Linked DNA regions of Homo sapiens: region 2 is linked to region 1. The links are contacts of gene promoters, found by promoter capture Hi-C in blood cells and fetal thymus (Javierre and others, 2016). All regions are on one chromosome and are shown on one strand. Each heading gives the region's core, a stretch centred on a gene start or on the middle of the fragment in contact. The rest is flanking DNA. Distances are from core to core; before and after follow the strand shown.

Region 1 (7,328 bases), core at 2,948-5,447:
AGGCGAAATCCTAGGCTTCCCTGTCTATGCTTCCCACGAAAAGAGAAGCATAGCTATAAGAAATTGAAAACATGATAAATGGCCCCCTAAGAGAATCATGCAATATTATAGGCCTGCTACTTAGGCACAAGACGGCTCGTGAGGATACCAGACCCCCATTTGCATGATCAACTGAATCATACGGTTACAAGCTGTCTTAAAAATAACCACTAATAAAACTGGCAGAGCCTTGACTCTTCTGGCCCGGCAATAAACTCAGATGAGAAATGCTATCTATCGAAATAGATTAGCTCTCGACTACTTGCTAGCAGCTGAAGGTGAGGTCTGTAGGAAATTTAACCATACTAATTACTGCCTATACATAGATAATCAAGGGCAAGTAGTTGAAGACATAGTTACAGATATAACAAAATTGACACATGTGCCCGTACAAGTGTGGCATGGATTTGATCCTGAGGCCATGTTTAGAAAATGGTTCCCAGCACTACGAAGATTTAAAACTCTTATAATAAAAGTTATAATAGTAATAGGAACCTGCTTACTGCTCCCTTGTTTGCTACCTGTACTTCTTCAAATGATAAAAAGTTTCATCGCTACCTTAGTTCACCAAAATGCTTCAGCAGAAGTGTACTATATGAATGAATCACTATCGATCTGTCTTGCAGGAAGACATAGATAAGAAAATGAAAGTGAAAACTCCTACTATTGAGTGAGAGTCTCAAAGGGGAGGAATAAGGCAGGAGACCACCCCTCATATTGTCTTATGCCCAATTTCTGCCTCTAAAGAAAGAAAAAGTAAAAACTAAAAGGCAGAAATGAAATCCACAAGCAGACAGCCCGGCCCCACACCCTAGGCCTGGTAGTTAAAGATCGACCTCTGACCTAATCAGTTATGTTATCTATAGATTACAGACACTGTATAGAAAAGCACTGTGAAAATCCCTATCCTGTTTTGTTCCGGTCTAATTACTGGTGCATGCAGCCTCCACTCACGTACCCCCTGCTTGCTCAATCGATCACGACCCTCTCACGTACACCCCCTTAGAGTTGTGAGCCCTTAAAAAGGACAGGAATTGCTCACTCGGGGTGCTTGGCCCTTGAGACAGGAGACTTGCTGATGCCCCCGGCCAGATAAACCCCTTCCTTCAACTCGGAGTCTGAGGAGTTTTGTCTGCGGCTCATCCTGCTACAGGCTCATTGCAAGTTCCGCCTCCTGGATTCACGCCATTCTCCTGCCTCAGCCTCCCAAGTAGCTGGGACTACAGGCGCACACCATCATGCCCAGCATTTTTTTTTTTTTTTTTTTAGTAGAGACGGGGTTTCACCGTGTTAGCCAGGACGGTCTCAATCTCCTGACCTCATGATCTGTCTGCCTTGGCCTCCCAGAGTGCTGGAATTACAGGCCTGAGCCACCGCGCGGCCATTTTCAATTTTAAAAAACTTTTTTATTACAGAAATGTTCACATATACACTAAAGTAGACAAGCTAATATAAAGAATGTAATGTATTTATGAGGTAGTTTCAAGTTATCAACCCACATTCCCCACCCCTACATTTTAAAGTAAATTTCAGTGATGTCATTTAGTGTACAGATAGTTGCCTAGGGACCTTTAAAATTTGTTCTTTCTTTTTTCTTTTTTTTTTTTTTTTGAATCGGGGTCTCACTCTGTCACCCAGGCTGCAGTGCAGTGGTGCAATTATAGCTGGCTGGAACTACAGGTGCACGCCACCATGCCCAGCTAATTTTTAATTTTTTTTTTTTGTAGAGACAAGGCAGGGGGGTCTCCCTTTTCTTCCCAGGCTGGTCTTGGACTCCTAACCTCAAGGGATCCTCCTGCTTCGACCTCCAAAAGTGCTGGGATTACAGGTGTGAGCCACCATGCCCAAATTTGTACATTCTTTTGGTGTACATATAAGAATACATTTGTAAGATAAATTCCAAAATATGAATATCTTGGGTCAAAGAAGAGCTGAATTTTACATTGATAGCTATTGCCCACTTGTTCTTTACAAAGCGTGTATGGATTTATACTCCTATCAACAATAAATTAGCCAGGCATGCTGACGTGCACTCGTAAACCCTGCTATTCAAAAGGATAGTTGAAGTCCAAGAGTTCAAGACCAGTGTGGGTAACATAGAGAGGCCTCCTCTAGGGGAGGAAAAAAGGGTTTCCCTATATCCTCATCAAAACAATATATAGTCAAACTTTTCATCTTTGCATTTGTGAAAAATTGTATTTTATTTTTGTTTTATGATACTTTAAGAAATCATTTGTATTTTTCTGTAGAAACCTGTTTTTCTCTGAGTTGAACATTTTTGTACTGATTTTTTTAATAATTAGAACTTTTTTAATAATTTAGAACTTTTTGTCATACATTTTACAAATATTTTTCTTGGTTGGGGTTTGTTATATTTATTTGCTATGCAGAAAATTTAGATTTCTATGTAGTTACATTTATCAATTTTTATTTATTTATTTAGAGACAGAGTCTTGCTCTGTCGCCCAGGCTGGACTGCAATGGCGCGATCTCGGCTCACTGCAACCTCTGTCTCCCAGGTTCAAGTAATTCTCCTGCCTCAGCCTCCCAAGTAGCTGGGATTACAGGAACCCCGCCACCACAACCGGTGAAATTTTTGTATTTTTATTAGAGACGGGGTTTCACCATGTTGGTCAGGCTGGTCTCAAACTCCTGACCTCAGGTGATCCACTCACCTCAGCCTCTCCAAGTGCTGGGATTACACGCGTGAGTCACCGTGCCCGGCCTACATTTATCAATTTTTAATTTTATGGTTTATATGCTCTTTGAAAAGTCTCTCACCACTCCAACCTTACTTTTGTTTTTTTCCCTTGTTTTCTTCTGGTATTTTCATAACCTCTCTCTTTTTTTTTTTTTTTTTTTTTGTTTTTTGAACATTTAACTATTTGCTTTGTTTGGAATTTACTTTCATGTGAGGACATCAAATAGATCCAGTGTTTTCCTCCGACATGCCTCGACTGGCAGGAGACCAAAGTTTTCATTCTATTACTAGAGAGTAGCTATAGTTACAGAATCAGGTATCCTGAGAGAGATCATTTATGCCCAGGATGAATAACTTGTCTTATCTATTAAATCTATTAAATCCTTTGGAGATTTCACTTTTTTTTTTTTTTTTTTTTGGGACGGAGCCTGTTACCTAGGCTGGAGTGCAGTGGCGCGATCTCCCAGCTCACCACAAGCTCCGCCTCCCAAGTTCAAGCGATTCTCCTGCCTCAGCCTCTCGAGTAGCTGGGATTACAGGCATGTGCCACCACCACGCCCGGCTAATTTTGTATTTTTAGTAGAGACGGGGTTTCTCCATGTTGGTCAGGCTGGTCTCGAACTCCTGACCTCAGGTGATCCGCCTGCCTCAGCCTCCCAAAGTGCTGGGATTACAGGCGTGAGCCACTGCGCCGGCCCCAAAATTTCAGGTTTTGATAGACGGAATGGGTGAAGAAAATGAGAGCTAGCAAGGAAGAACAGGATGCAGAGGCAAGACTGGAAACTCTCCAAGAAAGGTTAACTTTTCTTAACTCACAAGTTAAACAAAGGCTGCAGGCTCCATGCGGAGCTCAGGCACCCAGCGGTGACCGATCCAGACCAGGTCCTCCCGGAAGCCCGGCCTGCCCGACAGAGCCTTACCACAGAGCCCCCTCAGGCGTCCTCGCCAGGACGGGGCGGAACCCTGTGTAGCTCCCACCCCCGGGACGAAGGCCGCTGCCAGGGCCGCGCAGCCACGCGAGTGGAATCAGAGGAGCCTCGAGGCAAGGAGAGCCGGGCCCCGCTCCCTGCGCCCGTCACCGCCATCCTTGTTGTAGGGAACTCGGCCCCCGAGCCGCCGCCGCGCTCCGTGGGCTCCCAATGAGCCCCTACCCCAGCCACCCGCTGCGTTTGCGCCAGCCTCCCAGACTAGCCTGGGGTGCTGAAATGGGGGCGGGCCCGAGCCACGGGTTGGGGCGGGGTCTGATGCGCGCCCCGCCCCGCAACGCCCCGCCCCCCCGCGCCTACCTCTCCAGTCCGCGCCCTTCGGCGCCCGCCCCGCCAGTCCCCGCCCCTCCTTGCCCAGCCGCTCCCGCCCCTCCCCCGCCTTCCCGCGCGGCCCGCCTCGCCTTCCCCCCCCTCCCGCGCCCCCGCGCGGCCGGCCCCTGGCCTTCCTCCCCTTCCTGCTCCGGGCCCGCCAGTAGCCGGCCGCGGCGGCGAGGGACTAGGACGCGGCTGGAGCGGCGCCGGGAGACGAGGGGCTGAGAGACGGCGGCGGCCGAAAGCGGAGAGATGCTGGGCGTGGCGGCCGGGATGACCCACAGGTACGGGCCGCACCGCGCGGCCCCCGCCACGTCCGCCCCGCAGCTCCCGGCGGGCCTTCGGGCCGGGCCGGGCCGGGCCTGGCGCGGGCGGGCGGCCGGGCTTTCCCCGCGGCCTCCCCCGGTCGGCCGGAGCCCCGACCCCCAGCGCTCGGGTGGCGGCGTGGCTGCGTCCGGGCCCGCGGAGGAGACGGCTGCTGTTCACTCCCGGGTGTCCGCGGTGGCACAGGCGCTGACGCCGCCCCGCTGCTCCGAGAGTTCCATAAGACAAATCAGTATTTGCCGAGCTAATCATTTATCTTCTAGCAGTAGGGATCAGCGGGTCGCAGACGTCTTGGTCTCAGGACCCCTCTTGGGACTAGAGGACCTGGAATGGTGGCTATCTCCATAGACTGTACTAGAAAGGAAAACCGAGACACTGAAGTTACTATTAACTCATTGAATAAATCCGTGGTATGTTAACGTACATACCACATTTTTATGCAACATAGGGTTTTGCTAAAACAAAAGAGTTCGTGGGACGACTGGCGTCCTTTACAGTTTGCGAATCTCTTGAGTTGTCTGACTTAGTAGAGACAACTACGTTCTCCCATCTCCTTTGCAGTTCAGTCTGTTGCGGTATGTTTTTATATGAAGAAAATCTGATCTTACACAGATGTGTAGTTGGAAAAGTGAGTACTGTCTTAATAGCTGTTTCAGATAATTATGGGTATTCTTTATTACTACACCAAAACTACGTAAGTGGAAGTTTCTCAAAGGCTGGTTTGGACGTGGAATCTGAAGCTACTGTCAGCGGACTTTTCACACAGTTTCGTTAAAATTCCTTGGTCTGTCTTGCAGTTTGAATGCAGCTAAAGCTCCTGTCAGTGGCCTTTGCACACAGTTACGTTAAAATTCCTTGGTCTGTCTTGCAGTTTGAATGCAGCTGTTACCCATTGTAACACCATATATTTGTCGTTTGGAAGATATTGGCTCACTGAGTTTGGCAGATCTCAAGCTGACGCATTTCATTAATAGCGCCGAATAACATTCGTTACCATCGCTATTGATTTCATTAGGAAAGTCTTTATGTTAAAAGCCGTCAGATACAAGGTGGTGTTTACAAGTTTTCCAAAATTCTCATTTTCGGTTGAAAGCTTGCTTTTTATCATTGGGAGCAAAATATTGTCAATTGTTTTCCTCAAAGTGACAGACTCACTTTGTTCAGTTTCAAGGAAGTGTCCGGCAATACAGGTTTAAATAACCCTAGTTTGTCAGTTGTTCTTTCCCGTAAAAATGGTATTTCATGACACAAGCAAGTTAATTCAGCTCATCGCTCTATTACAGAAGTGCACGCCTGCCATTTGGTCACAAGTAACAAAAAAGAGTCAAAGCTCAAGATTTGATAACAATAATTTGTACTCCTTCATCATGGACTTTTTTCCTTAAAAAAAAGTATTGACTAGTAAGTTGATATAAAATTTAAAGTATTTGTGAGATATTAAGAATAACGGATATGTAGTGTAATAAAGGAGATAATAGTTTCCTTTTAAGACCTTCAAACCTCTCTGGTCCAGTGTCTCTCCGCATCCTATCCCCTTCCCATCCTGAATTTACCATTAGTAATTTACTTTTTGGAGGGAGAGTAATAAGTTCATTCAAATTATTGTGCATCCGTAACCATCATACATGTCCAGAAATCTTTATCTTACAAAACTGAAACTCTGTACCTATTAAACAATAATTCTCCATTCCCCTCCTCCCGCCAGTCCCTGGCAGCCATCATTTTAATTTCTGTCTATGACTTTGACTACTGCTGGTACCTCATATCTCATGTAAGTGGAATCATACGCTATTTGTTGTGCATGTCATAGTTTGTTCCTTTTTGTTGCTCAGTAGTGCTCCATGGTATGGATGTACAGCAGTTTAACTGTTCACATGTTTGAAGGACATTCAGGCTGTTAGTTTTGGGCTATTAAGAAAGCTACTACGAACAAATAGACAGGTGTTTGTTGTTGTTTTTGAGACAGTGTCTTGCTTAGTCACCCAGACTGGAGTGGAATGCAGTAGCATGATCATGACTTACTGCACCCTAGACCTCCCAGGCTGAAGCAATCCTTCCACCTCAGTCCCCCAAGTAGCTGGGACTACAGACACACGCCACCATGCCTGGATAATTTTTGTATTTTTTTGGTAGAAACAGGGTTTCGCCATGTTGTCCAGGCTAGTCTGGGGGTCCCAAACTCCTGGGTTCCAGCAGTCCACCCACCTCAGCCTCCCAAAGTGCTGGAATTTTAGAGCCACTGTGCTCAGCCTGTCTAAGTTTTATGTGAATGTAACTTTTCCTTTTCTGGGATAAATGTCCAAGAGTGTGCAATTGGCAGGTTGTACAGAAATCGTATGTTTAGTTTTTTGAGAAACTGACAGTTTTTTTCCAGCATGACTGTACCATTTCACTTAAAAAGTGAAATTGACATTATTTTCCTGTGAGTACATAAAGGTAAAGAATTCAGGGACAGTACCACGGCCCTCTTTAGTGCTAAGCGGCCAGCAGTTGTACCGACTGTTGTTTTTGCACTATCTGTGTGTCAACACAGTCCACAATGCTACAGTGACTTCTTAGGAATATCTTAGTATGATGAAAATAGTTTTGATCTCTCGGATCCCTTAGAAAGGTCTTGGAGACCCTCAGGAGTTCAAGGCCATACTTTAAGAACCACTGTTAAAGACATAATCCTAAATGATGAAGGATATGCAGGTATTGGGGATATTTAAAAAGGAACAAATACAAGGTTTCTCTTAAAATTGCTCTTGAATGCTTGTGGTAGTGTGTGCCTTGTAGTTTTGGCTAGTTTTAGTAGGATGTAATAACTAAGACTTGGACCACCATGGAAGAAGCAACTTTCTGCCTTTCAGGATTTTCCCTGATAAGAAAATGGCCAGTGCCATTATGAAGAGGGACAATGCCATGGGCCTAAGTGTATTCACACTTTTCAGTGCTCTGTGCCTGTTTGTATGGTGAGAAAATCG
Region 2 (7,328 bases), core at 3,817-6,316, 260 kb after region 1:
TTTTGCAGTGATGTGAGTGGAGTTGTGAAAACAATTGAATTGCTTTTTAAAAGCGGCTTATTTCGAAATAATTTCGGACTTACTCAAAAGTTGCTGCAGTATTACCAAGAATTCCCTTGTACCCTCACTTGCATTCACAAATTAATATTTTGCCACATTGGCTTTACCATTCGTTCTCTCCCCTTCCCTCCCTACAAACGCATTTTTTCCCTTTGAACTATTTGAGGGTGATTTGCAGGCATCATGCCCCTTTACCTCTGAATAGAAATAACTTGTGCATTTTTCCTAAGCATAAGGACGTTGTCTTTTAATAACCACAGTAATATTTTCAGGAAATTTAGAATTGGTATAATATTTGGTAATCTAGAGTTCATAAGAAATTTCAGCAATTATCTCGATAAAACCTTTTATAGGAAAATTTTTTCCTAGTGCAGATCCGACCCAAGAACGAGCATTGATTGTATTTGATTGTCCTTTTTGTTGCCTTTAATCTGGAACAGGTTCACAGCCTTTGTTTTCTGTAAGGTTGTTTTTTTTTTGAGAAGTGTAAGAATTATTTATTGGATTGTTTCTCCGTTTGGGTTTATCTTATAGATGCTTCTTCGTTAGATTGATTATGCATTTTTGGCAGGAGCATGAGATGAGTGATGTGTGGCCTGCTGTGGGGAGGAACATGACGTTGGTTTGTCACATTATTGATGATATTAGTTTTGATCACTTGGTTAAGATGGTGTCTACAAGATTTCTCCACTCTAACCTTTGTAATTAATACATAATTTGTGGGGAAATATTTTGAGACAGTAAATTGATTTTTAGTATACAAATTAAATCTTTTCTTTTTTTTTTTAGTATGATTTTTCAAATTTTTATCAGTCTAAGTATAAGAGAAGAACTCTAACCTCCCCAGGTAAGCCGGTATTTTGTATATTTGGGGGTTTCAAAAATTTAATTTGAGGCTGGGCGCGGTGGCTCACGCCTGTAATCCCAGCACTTTGGGAGGCCGAGGCAGGCGAATCACCTGAGGTCAGGAGTTCGAGACCACTCAGGCCAACATAGTGAAATCCCGTCTCTACTAAAGATACAAAAAATTAGCCGAGCATGGTGGCGGGCGCCTGTAATCCCAACTGCTGGGAAGGCTGAGGCAGGAGAATCGGTTGAACCCGGGAGGCAGAGGTTGCAGTGAGCCGAGATGGCGCCACTACACTCCAGCCTGGGCAACAAGAGCGAAACTCAGTCTCAAAAAAGAAAAAAATAGGCTGCGCGCGGTGGCTCACGCCTGTAATCCCAGCACTTTGGGAGGCGAGGCGGGCGGATCACGAGGTCAGGAGATGGAGACCATCCTAGCTAACACGGTGAAACCCCGTCTCTACTAAAAAAAATACAAAAAATTAGCCGGGTGTGGTGGCGGGCTCCTGTAGTCCCGGCTACTCAGGAGGCTGAGGCAGGAGAATGGGGTGAACCCGGGAGACGGAGCTTGCAGTGAGCCGAGATTGCGCCACTGCACTCCAGCCTGGGTGACAGAGCGAGACTCCGTCTCAAAGAAAAAAAAAGAAAAAAAAATTTGAGAGAGAAGATTTTAAAAATAGTATTATTTAGACTTATGGCCAGTGCCAGATATTTTGTGATATATTGTTGTGGTAATCTTTCATGGTTTCTTTGTCGTTGACAGGTGATTTGGATATCTACTCTGGAGATAAAGTTGGTTCATCGTTAAAATATTCTGATGAAAGCAAGCATTGTAGAACACCATTGGGCAGCTTATTCAAGCACGTAAATGTGAATTGGTAAAGTACCCTGAAACTTTACTGTTGCTACCCCCTCAGTATCTCAAAAAACTGAGAAAGAGAAAAGGGCAGGTTATATTTTTGCTCTTTCCTGAGGACAAGTATGAGGACAAGTATAAGGCAGTCTGGAGCCTGCTAAATAGTTGAAGCGAGTCACTTATTAATTTTTACTGAGAATCTCTGTAATAAAAGCATAGACCTAGCATTATATTTAGTGGCATAATGGAAAGTTATTTATATAATGTAAAAGATGAAAAAATATATTTTTATGGTTATTCATTCAGGACCCAAATGAAGACTCTGCTCCCTTTCTTTAAAAATTTTTTTTTAGAAAAGGAACTATGGGCCAGGTGCGGTGGCTCACGCCTGTAATCCCAGCACTTTGGGAGGCCGAGGCGGGTGGATCACCTGAGGTCAGGAGTTTGAGACCATCCTGGCCAACATGGTGAAATCCCGTTTCTACTAAAAAATAGAAAAATTAGCCAGGCTTGGTGGTGTGCGTCTGGAATCTCAGCGACTTGAGAGGCAGAGGCAGGAGAATCACTTGAACCCGGGAGGTGGAGGTTGCAGTGAGCTAAGATTGTGCCATTGCACTCCAGCCTGGGTGATGAGCAAAACTGTCCTGAAGAAAGAAAAAACGAACTACAAAAAAAACTGCCATACAGGTTTTGTTAGGCAGCAGCATTTTACTATCTCTGGTGTGTCTGGTATTGTATGCATTGTATTTAGGTGATTGAGAGAGATTGAAGAAGGTGGTCTGGGGAGATGGTAACTACAGGGTATGTAGGATACAGTGCTGGGTTAAAAGAAGTTGCCGTTCTGTAAGGAAGATACTATTTACTATGGGGAAAAAATATAAAAACAGTGGAAGCTAAGGTAAAATAAAGATCTAAGTTGGATATTATTTAATGCTAAAAATATGTGGCAGAAAGAAATGCTATGGGTATCAAGAAGGAGTAAGCATTTTGAAATAAAGATGTATCCATATATAACATGAAATGTTGAAATAATTGTGGAGAGAAAAAATAATTATGCCTAAAGTATCTGTATGTTACATAATTAGTATTTGGGAGCTTGACTTTTTTTAATACAGTTTTCTCTTTCTCTACTTAAATAAGTTAATCTGTGTAACACACTTTGAACAGTTCTGGGTAAATAATAAGTACTCAAATGTTACCTATTATCATTATTATTACTATTTCATGTTGCACTCACAAAATCTAGTTGATCTAGATTTAGGATTTAGACATGAGCTACGTTGAATGTAGGGTAAGGAAAGTGAAAATTGCTTTTAAGGTAATAATTATAAATTTATGGAAATTATTTTCTTTTTAACTGAGTTTTATCATTTTTTATATAATGACCTGGGTATAACTCTAAACTATAATCTAAAGGTTTTGGACTATGAAGGTTTTCATAACATTGGACCCCTAGTTGTGATCTGGTCTGAAACTATGCTGTCCAGCACAGTAGCAACAGGCCACATGTACCTATTGAGTACTTGAAATGGGGCTGGTCTGAATTGAGATATGCTGTAAGTGTCATATACACACTGGCTTTCTAAGACTTAGCATAGATAACAAAAATTAGCCGGGCATGGTGGCGGGTGCCTGTAGTCCCAGCTACTCGGGAGGCTGAGACAGGAGAATTGCTTGGACCCGGAGGCAGAGGTTGCAGTGAGCCGAGATCGCGCCACTGCACTGCAACCTGGGTGACAGAGTGAGACTCCGTCTCAAAAAATAAATAAATAGGCATGGATAAAATAATGTAAAATATCTTAATTTTGTGTGGGTGTATGTGGGTTTGCAGGGGGCGAGCCTGTTGCCCAGGCTGTGAGTGCAGTAGCATAATTGTAACTCACTGTAGCCTCCAACTCCTGGGCTCAAACGATCCTCTCACCTCAGGCTCCTGAGTAGCTGGGACTACAGACGTGCACCACTACTCCCAGCTAATTTATTTTATTTATTTTTCTTTTTGTAGAGACAGAGTCTCACTGTGTTGTCCAGGCTGATCTTGAACTCCTGGGCTCAAGAGATACTCCCACTTCGGCCTCCCAAAGTGCTGAGATCACAGGCGTGAGCCACCATGCCTGTTCTATCCTAATAATTTTTAACATTGATTACATGTTGAAATGATAAACTTTTAGATATATTATATTAACTAATATTTTTAAAATTTATTTTTTTAACGTGCTACTAGAAAATTTTAAATTACCTATATGACTTGTGTTATATTGCTTTTGAACAATACTATTCCAAAAATTTCAACTCAGATTGTCTTTTTGGAGACAACACCTGGAATTCTAGTTCTGCTCCACTTTCTACTCGTTATGTCACCCATCAGTTATTTGACTTACTTAGGTTTAGTTTACTTATGTATATTATTTTAGCTAAAACTACCTTATAGATAACAGATTATTGGGAGTCAAAATAAAGTGTTCCTTAGCTGTAGAATATACCACAGGTAGGTATATGTCATTTTAAATTAAGTCTATTTAATGTGTAGAAAAAGATGCTTGTAGTGGGTTATCAATGATCAGTGACTGTTAGTTTTTACGTTTTTTCTTTTTACATGTTTACATTTTGCAGTTTAAAAAATGTTTTTACATTTTTTCTCAGTTATGCTGTTAATATTTGAAAAGCAGTTTTATCTTTTTAAAGTGCTATAGTAAACTTCTAGATTGCTGTGATACAATTATTTTTTTAAAGCCTAGATGATGAACTGGATTCTTTCCATGATTTGAAGAAACAGGAAACAGAAGAAGAGTTAATTGAAAATGATTATAGAGTTAGTACCTCGAAAATAACCAAGCAGTCTTTTAAAGAAATAGAAAAAGGTAAAATAAATATTTTAGAACAATCAATTCAGTAGTAACTTTGTCAAGTAGAGTAAATGAAGCTTCCCTCCTAGTAATAACACTGGCCCCCAAGAGTTTGCATATTTCTGTGTTCTGAACTTCTGTAAGCTAGGAGATAGTTACTGTGCTTATTATTAAACTAAAGGAGCAGAGAAAATTAAACTTCATTATTTTTCAGTAATATTCCTGTACCCTCAAAATTTATCAAAATAAGTTAATAACTGAGTAGATGATTGTGGTAGTATTTGACTACAATATTTTGAGAAAATACTCCAGATTATTTGAAGTATGGATTTCTGGGCACTGAACTGCCAGCAGTTTTCTGTGTATCTGGCTGCATTTCATAGTTGTGGCGGGATTTCAAGGAATGAGACAACCAGAAATGGCACCCTTCACCCTCTGGGCTACAAGACTTTGAGTTGCCCTGTTGATAATACTGGTGCTGGTATTATGGTCTACACACAACAACATTCATTTTCCTCTTTTCCCTCTCCTTTGTTTTCCTTTGTCCCATTATTCTCATCATTTGAGGAAGATGAAAAATAATTCTGTCGGGACTTGAGTTTCCTGCTATATGGTCGATTTTCCCAGTGGAAAACATGGGATAAGGTATAAAGAAAATGTTGCTTGTATTCCATTAAAAGTAATGGCAAAAGCCACAATGACTTTTGCACCAACCTCATATTTGAAAGTAGACAAAATTAAGAAATGCTCGGGCCAGGGATTGGTGAGTCGGGAACCTAGACAGGCAAGTAGAGCTCTGTGAATGTGCCTTTCACTTTTAGGGCATTTGCTGAACTGAGTGAAGTGAAGCTTTTCATTTTAAAAAATTCATACTATGTTTTATTTTTACTTCTCCGTTGTCTGTTCAAAATGGAGTATAATGGAAGACACACCCCCCTCCTTTTTTAAAGCTGGGGCTTCCATGAGTCTAGTGCAAGTTAAAACCACTGAGCGTCGGCCAGGCGCGGTGGCTCACGCCTGTAATCCCAGCACTTTGGGAGGCCGAGGCGGGTGGATCACGAGGTCAGGAGATCGAGACCATCCTGGCTAACACGGTGAAACCCTGTCTCTACTAAAAATACAAAAAATTAGCCAGGCATGGTAGCACGTGCCTGTAGTCCCAGTTACTCGGGAGGCTGAGGCAGGAGAATCACTTGAACCCGGGAAGCGGAGGTTGCAGTGAGCTGAGACTGTGCCACTGCACTCCAGTCTGGGCGACAGAGAGACTCTGTCTCAAAAAAAAAAGCAAGGCCGGGCACGGTGGCTCGTGCCTGTAATCCCAGCACTTTGGGAGGCAGAGGTGGGCGGATCACGAGGTCAGGAGATCCAGACCATCCTGGCTAACACGGTGAAACCCTGTCTCTACTAAAAAAAAAAATAACAAAAAAATTAGCCGGGCTTGGTGGCTGGCCCCTGTAGTCCCAGCTGCTCGGGAGGCGGAGCTTACAGTGAGCCGAGGTCGCGCCACTGCACTCCAGCCTGGGCGACAGAGTGAGACTCCGTCTCAAAAAACAAAACAAAACAACAACAAAAAAACACTGACCGAGAGCATTTTATACTCTAATTGTTAAAAGAAAATAAATTCTGACAGTATAGTGCTGGCAAGGATATCAAGCAAGAGGAACTCACCTACTGCTGTTGGGAGAGTAAATTGATACAGCCACTTTGGAAAACAATTTGGCATCACTAGTAAAGTTGAATCTGCACATATACCCTATGATCTAGCAATTTTGCTACTACTTATATACCCTCAGGAAACTTTTTTTTGTTTTGTTTTGTTTTTTTTTTGAGATGGAGTCTCGCTCTGTCGCCCAGGCTGGAGTGCAGTAGCGCGATCTGGGCTCACTGTAAGCTCCGCCTCCCGGATTCACGCCACTCTCCTGCCTCAGCCTCCCGAGTAGCTGGGACTACAGGCACCCGCCATCACGCCCGGCTAATTTTTTTTTTTTGTATTTTTAGTAGAGACGGGATTTCACCGTGTTAGCCAGGATGGTCTCAATCTCCTGACCTCATGATCCGCCCGCCTCGGCCTCCCAAAGTGCTGGGATTATAGGCGTGAGCCACCGCGCCCTGCCACCCTCAGGAAACTCTTAAACTTGTACACCAGAAGCCACGTACGAGACTGTAGCATCTGTATAGCCAAATCAGCTCAAATTTCCACCTATAGGAGGATGCTGTATACAGTGTTTGCAAAATAGGATATACAGTGAAGATTTGTGAACCTGTTTAAAAGAAGAGGTTATAGAAATTATGTTAATATAATTACATATAAAATATAAAAGGCAAAACAAGCAAGGACTTTTAAGATTAAGTAGTGGAGATTAAACAGCAAAGCAAAGCAGCATGTAACACTTACTTGCATTAGTGGTAAATTTGGTTTAGGGGAGAGAGGGGAACATGATTAGGGGCTTTTAAGGTTGCTTTCCATTTCTTGGCAATTAGTGTCTTTTTATATCCTTTAAAATATTTTATTTTGAAATCATTTCAGACTTACAGAAAAGTTGCAAAGATAGTGCAATCAATTGCTGTATACCCTTCACCCAAATTTTCGATGTTACCACTTTACCATATTTGCTATATTTTTCTTTGTCTCTCTTGAAACTTTTTAATGTTATATTTTGTACTTAAAGCATCTCTTCCTAAAGGTTACTCTGAGAATATTTGAAACAATAAGTTAATAAAGT

Evidence for each region. The method cuts DNA at HindIII sites, captures the fragments that hold promoters and counts their contacts. A CHiCAGO score of 5 or more calls a contact.
Region 2: a contact is called between a fragment that was not itself captured here and the fragment with the promoter of LIMS1 in region 1, in 7 of 17 cell types (neutrophils, naive B cells, total B cells and 4 more). The highest score is 7.3, in neutrophils.

Annotation. Positions count from the first base shown.
Region 1 is chr2:108,530,273-108,537,600 of GRCh38, forward strand. LIMS1 (LIM zinc finger domain containing 1) reads left to right here and starts at 4,198. Exons shown (of 10, transcript NM_001193483.3): 1 at 4,198-4,322. The coding sequence starts at 4,291. GCC2-AS1 (GCC2 antisense RNA 1) reads right to left here and starts at 3,947. Exons shown (of 3, transcript NR_135290.1): 1 at 3,557-3,947. RefSeq lists silencers at 3,061-3,355, 3,844-4,443. The HindIII fragment of the contact is 7,547 bases long and covers 1-5,453 here.
Region 2 is chr2:108,787,183-108,794,510 of GRCh38, forward strand. It overlaps CCDC138 (coiled-coil domain containing 138), which reads left to right. Exons shown (of 15, transcript NM_144978.3): 2 at 850-907; 3 at 1,670-1,784; 4 at 4,493-4,620. It also overlaps a transcript of RANBP2 not described here. Among named protein-coding and RNA genes, the nearest start is that of CCDC138, 4.1 kb to the left of the region's middle. RefSeq lists a silencer at 3,504-3,678. The HindIII fragment of the contact is 772 bases long and covers 4,681-5,452 here.